Linked DNA regions of Homo sapiens: region 2 is linked to region 1. Evidence: promoter capture Hi-C in human tissues and cell types (Jung and others, 2019). All regions are on one chromosome and are shown on one strand. The core of a region is centred on a gene start or on the middle of the fragment in contact, and the rest is flanking DNA. Distances in the headings are between cores, read along the strand shown.

Region 1 (3,116 bases), core at 198-2,697:
AACTGCTCTCTGCATCGCAAGGCAAGCGAGTGGCAAAGCTCCGGCTAGAGCTGGCAACAGAATATAGAATTCTTGGTTCCTCCTGCAGAAGTGACTGAGAAGCATTAGTTTGTTATAAATGGCAGCACTTCTTTCGTTGGGTGTTGAGGGACAAGTCCCTTTCCTGTTATTTAGAATTGAGCTCCCTTTAATAGCAGTGCCTGGTGCTGAAGATTACAATGAGATGGGCTGCTTCTCACCGGGGGAACACACACAGGCATCTCCCCCGCTAGCAAACTGCTTTGATCATGAGAGTCTGCAAGCTCAGAAACGCAGGATGGCTCTCTGCAGAGGGACTTGTGAAAGCCCGTATCTTCTGCCCCACTGTTACCTGATAGAGTTGTCCAGGTTCTTGGCCTGTTGAACAAAAAATTGAACGAAATGCACGGAGTAACGAAAGAAAGAAGCAAGGAAAAACAAAGCAACAGAAGGGAGGAAGGAAAACGTAGATTTATAGAAGACAATTCACAGAGGGCGCTGCAGCAAGCCACAAGAGCCTGACGCTCCCCAGGGATTTTATAAAGCGAAAAGAACTTGGCAACACCCTTGGGTTCCCTTTAGAGGCCTCCAACTGGTTACACCTTACGAAGGACTGGCCTGCGACCAGTCCGAGGCTGAAGTGGAAACTTCTGCCTTGTTATCAGAGGAGCGAGGATGTGGCCTGTGTGCCGCCTAATCATGCCTAGAACTGTCTGCACCTGCTGATCTTTTGCTTCTGCGAACTGGCTGCACCTGCTGTTCTCCTGCTCATACCCTAGCCCGTGCTTACCCTAATTCCCTGTTCTCCTGCCTCACCACCAGAGGCCCGGGTTGTCTGCACAGTCTCATTTTCCACGTTATTCCTGTAATGAACCCGTCCTCCCACCCCCACCAGCAGTTACAGGGCTGGGTGCGGAGACCAACTCTGGCCAGACACAGAGGAGCAGCAAGAACCCGGGGCAACGGTCCTGTGAGTGAGTGCATGTGGGGGAGAGAAATGGAATGAACAGAAATAATTTAGGAAGCACTTTTTACAGAGCACTCAGGTTCTGCCTGAGGAGGTGGGGCGGGCGCTGGTAACATTTGGACAATCGTGGTTAAAAGTGACCCCATCAGCACCCGCTGATCCTTCTTGAACTTGATAACCTTGGTGAAAACGCCAAGCGTTGGAGAAATTCAAGGAATGGCTGTTGTAATGTACATTTCACGCTTAGCCTTTCCTCCCCGCGCTGGGAAGAAGTGCTGCGCACCGCGGCTCCGCCAGGGGGCAGGAGAAGTCACATTACACAGAGAACTAAAAAAAAAAAAAATTCCCCAACTTTTTCCCCCAAACCTTGTTCCTCCTGAAGAAACCGAATCCTCCCGCTTCGGCGTCCCAGGAGCCCGCCCCTCGCCCGCCGCCTCCCCTGCGTCCCCGCCCCGCGCAGCCGCCGCGCTCCTGCGCTCCGAGGTCCGAGGTTCCCGAGATGAAGGTCTGGCTGCTGCTTGGTCTTCTGCTGGTGCACGAAGCGCTGGAGGATGGTGAGTGACTCTGGGCGCGGGGCCACCTAGCTTGTGCCCTGACTTTAGCCGGGACCCGAAGCCCCCGCCGCCCTCCTGCCAGCTCTTGGTCTAACGTTCGGCCCTCGGTGGCTCAGCCCCCGCGCCACTGCCTGCCCGGTGCACCTGCCCCCTCCTGGTGGGGTCTCCTTTCCTCCCACTCTTTGCCTGCCCGGAGAGCCCTCTAGGGGTGGTGGCAGCTACCCCGACCCTTAGGAGCCCACCAGGACCTCTCCAAGTCCCCATCTCCGGGCGAACCAAGCATCCCCAGCCAGCGCCTGGTCCAGCCCCCAGTGTCAACGTGTCGGTCTGGGAGGTGGGGCGGGAGCCTCGGATCGCTTCCACCTCCCAGCGGCGTGGCTGGGACCTCTGCTGCTGAGAGCGAGTGCCACCTAAGCTCGGCAATCGCTGATTCGGTTGCAGAGTTCCAGGTGACCTCCCCCTCCCCTCGCAGTTCTGGGCGTGTTTTCGTCTACCACCTTTTGCTTGAATCCTGCAAGATCTGCCTAGATCTTCGAACAAAAATGTCAGTGTATGAAACTTCAAAACGAATCAAAAGCCCACGGCTTATTATATTTATCTAATTGGATGGGAAATGGTGAAGAAAATGCATTTTTTTGGTACAGCTTATGGGACCATGACCGCTGCGCGTTTTTGAATGTGTACCTGTCCTGGGTCCACCCTGTCGTGTACACCCGTGACCACAGGGTCTGGTGTTATTTTTCTGTGTGTCTGGGTGTGTGTATTACTGTGGTGTGTATTATATATTATTGTTAGCATTTAAATGTTTTGTTTGCTCTATTCACTCCATGGGTGTTATTTGTACAGTACATGTTTCATCTGGGTGCCTCCTGGTGTCCTCAACCCTCTCTTGAAATTCCTGGGCTACAACACAATTTTTGCTTAGATTTAGTGGAAAAGTAGCTTTTGCTGTTATGCAACTTCATGCTGGAGCCAGCTCGACCTGGCTCACATTTTTATCCACTCGTTCATCCTGACCAGTTCCTTTCTTTCCTAGGAAACTACATTTGCCAAAAAAATACCGCATTGTAGTTTGCAAAATCCAAGATAGTCGTGGTACTTGAAGTTGAGCATGAGGGTCCTTCAGCCTAGAGCTTTGCTTAATAAAACGTAGGCAGAGCTTCTACTGGGAGAGTAACACTTAACTCTGCCCAGAGAGAAGTTGCCATGAGTTCAGTTTGTAAAATGCAATATTAAAATGCTCCTGGCAGGCCCTTGTGTGCAACCGCTGAAAAGGCAGAAATGTAATTTGTAGTATCATTTTTTGAATAGGGCAGGAGATGGCCAGGCAAAATAATTTCAAATCAGCCATTCCTTTGTTTATACCCAACTTGCCAGTCTTAGAGGCTCAGAAATTGACTTCCATTCTGCCTCCTGGATCTCACCCAGCCCATGTGAGTTTATTACAAACATCTGACTAAATTTACCCTTTCTTTAAGTGTAATCCATACAAACAATAAGCATTTATGAGACAATTGGAGAAAGTGGAATACAGACTGAATGTAAGAAATAGTTCATAAATTTTAGGTGATAATAGC
Region 2 (3,247 bases), core at 205-2,704, 46 kb before region 1:
ATATATATAGCAGTTTTCCCTTCATTGGGGATGGGGGAGCAAGAGGACACATTGTATAAGCAAGTGTCAATCCTACCCAAGTGCCATGGGGCTCAGTCTCTACGGAGGGACATTTTCTTTGTTTTTGGTTTTGTTTTTTTGTTTTTTTTTTTTTTGAGAGATAGAGTCTTGCTCTGTCACCCAGGCTGGAGTGCAGTGATGTGATCTTGGCCCACTGCAACCTCTATCTACCTCCTGGGTTCAAGAGATTCTCCTGCCTCAGCCTCTCGATTAGCTGGGATTATATGTGTCCACCACCATGCCCAGCTAATTTTTGTATTTTTAGTAACGATGGGGTTTTACACCATGTTAGCTAGGCTGGTCTCGAACTCCTGGCCTCAAGTAATCCGCCCACCTTGGCCTACCAACATGCTGGGATTACAGGTGTGAGTCACCACGCCTGGCCCAGAGGGACATTTTCAAAGAAGCTGCCAAAAGTCCCTTGAAAAGGAATTTCAACCTTCCCTTGTGTTAGGCTGGTGGGTGCAGAAGTAATTGCTGTTTTGCCATTAAAAGCAGTAGCAAAAACTACGATTACTTTTGCACCAACCTAATACGTCTTGAAGGAGACCCCATTTGCATTCAACACCAGCACTTCTCCACACCCTCTTATCTCTCTTGCCGGCTTCTCTTGGCAGGTGAATGAGCGGGAGGTTCTCATTTTTCAGGCTGCTAGCTTTTCCCTGCCTCCTACCCCGTGCTATATAAATAAGCCTGGTTTCTTAGCTTTAATTTTCTACGTTCCCCCCTGCCCCCCATCCCCGGTCCGCCGCTGCTTCTTTGAGTCAGAAGGAAAGCTCAGGAGCTGACAGAGAGGATAAGAAAGAACCTTCTTGCTGTGTCCCTGCAGTAGCTCGGATGGCCTGGGAGCCGGGACAGAGGGAGAGGGCAAGGGGGCAAGGTGGGGGCAGCTGGATACATGCAGTTCAGTCAAAACCTTTTCACCTTTATGTGAGCCAGAAGACTTATGTGCTAAGGGTAGTAGGAGGACAAACTGGGCTACAGTACTCGTTGGAGAATAGCAACATGCAGGGCTAGAAAGCCAGGCTGGGGCCAGGTCACAGAGGGATGGTTTGGAAACCCAGGCAAGTTGCTGAAGTTAGTTGGCAGAAGGCAGATTAGGTACAAGTGTGAGTAAATAGATTTTTTTTTTTTTTTTTGAGACAGGGTCTCTCTCTGACACCCAGCCTAGCATGCGGTGGTGCAATCTCGACTCACTGCAACTTCTGCCTCCTAGGTTCAAGCGTTTCTCCTGCCTCAGCCTCTTGAATAGCTGGGACTACAGGGACGTGCCACCATGCCTGGCTAATTTTTGTACTTTTAGTAGAGACGGGTTTCGCCATGTTGGTCAGGCTGGTCTCAAACTCCTGACCTCAAGTGATCCTCCTGCCTTGGCCCCCCAAAGTGCTGGTAGTACAGGTGTGAGCTACTGCATCCAGCCAGTAAGTAGATTCAAAGCCTTAAAACTGAAATCTCATTCTTTATATAATAATTTAAATTTAATAAGCATTAATTGTTATTTTAAAGTATGCTGATATTTCTAAATATTTCTAAGCGTATTTAAAATGAAGGAAGGCTAATTCATTTACAAATCTCCATACGGTGTGGTTTCAAATAATTGCTTCCTCTTCTGTCATTGAAAGTCAGGGCTGGGAGATAACAGGGCTGGTTTCCTGGAAATGGTGTAATTCAGAGCCTAAGATAGGATATCTCTCTCTCTGTCTGCATCTTAGTGCTGAAAGACCTGAAGGTCAGATGAAACTCCTCTTTATAAAGAAGCAGCAAGAGCGGGGAGGAAGGGAGTTTCTCTCTCTTCTTACAGTCTTCTTATTTGAAAATACTGCAGCTGTACAATGGCCGTATATTGTATGTAATACAAGGCCACTATAAAGGTTTTAGAGGACAGAAAAATAAGTTATAGTTTAGGTTTCGTTTTGGGGTAACAAAAGATTAAAAAATGAGTGTTGTTAAAAAGAAATTTGAGAAACTCCATGAGTAGTATGATATATGTGTATATGGATATATTTTTTAAATTTTTGCTTAGATTGCAGGGTGTCTAATGCCTTTTATTTTTATGAATTATATTCTTTGTAAAACCTACTTTTCACACTTTATTTAAATATTTTAAAATTCCTATTGATCAATGATTCCAAAATAGTTTTTATATTTATGAGATGGTTTGAATTTTAAATTTTATAGTAACTTAAGCTATTATTATTCAGAATTAAAAATCAAAATGCATGTTTTTAGGAATTTCTGATTAAGACTTTATAGACTAATATGATTATTTTAAGGGTTTTTTTTTCTACTTATCAGGGAAATAACTATAGTTGCCATTAAATTTTTGTGCAAAAATTCAAGATCTTTTTCCAAGGAAGGAATTGTTTCAAGTAAAGTAACAAAGAGGAAAATTTGGACTTCTAATTGATTTTAGAAGTGACTGATTAAATAAATTGTCAAAATTTCAAAATGAGTCTTAAAGATTATGGATATTTCTTAGTTAATAAAAAAATGTGGCTGGGCACGGTGGCTCATGCCTATAATCCTAACACTTTGGGAGGCTGAGGTGGGCAGATCACCTGAGGTCAGGAGTTCGAGACCAGCCTGGCCAACGTGGTGAAACCCCATCTCTACTAAAAAAGCTACAAAAATTAGCCAGGTGTGGTGGCGGTGCCTGTAATCCCAGCTACTTGGGAGGCTGAGGCAGGAGAATCACTTGAACCCGGGAGGCGGAGGTTGGAGTGAGCTGAGATTGCGCCACTACACTCCAGCCTGGGCAACAGGGCAAGACTCTATCTCAAAAAAAAAAAAAAAAAAAAAAAAAAAAAACCCCAGCAATTCTAGGGAGGAATAATGGCTGAAGAATCAGATTAGTCATGGCTTTCCCCAGGAAAGCTTCCCTGCTGCCTCCTGACCCCAATCCCAGTGTGAGCATGGAGTCCCCTCCTGTGTGTGCCAGTAGTACCCTGGACTTCCCTTACCCACAGACATCAAGCTTTATGGTAATGGCCAGTTTACTTGTCCTTTTGTACCTGTATCCCCTTGCCTCCTGGAATTTTGTTTGGAAATTGCCTTTAGATTATTTTTTTGCTTTTTTTGAAATGTCTTAAGTCTTGATCTTTTAGAGAAACTGACAGTTTGTTGAACAGCTAATAAGTTGAATTCAGTCTATGCAGTTAATATAAAAATTAAAACAAAGTCTGGAGAA

The links. The method cuts DNA at HindIII sites, captures the fragments that hold promoters and counts their contacts. A contact is called where the count stands out against the background at its distance.
Region 2: a contact is called between a fragment that was not itself captured here and the fragment with the promoter of PDGFRL in region 1, in 1 of the 25 tissues and cell types used here (aorta).

Annotation. Positions count from the first base shown.
Region 1 is chr8:17,575,769-17,578,884 of GRCh38, forward strand. It overlaps PDGFRL (platelet derived growth factor receptor like), which reads left to right and starts at 1,448. Exons shown (of 6, transcript NM_001372073.1): 1 at 1,448-1,539. The coding sequence starts at 1,485. RefSeq lists silencers at 1,654-1,713, 1,804-1,853. The HindIII fragment of the contact is 19,467 bases long and covers 1-3,116 here.
Region 2 is chr8:17,529,392-17,532,638 of GRCh38, forward strand. All of the region lies in intron 2 of SLC7A2 (solute carrier family 7 member 2), which reads left to right. Among named protein-coding and RNA genes, the nearest start is that of SLC7A2, 34 kb to the left of the region's middle. The HindIII fragment of the contact is 3,060 bases long and covers 1-2,984 here.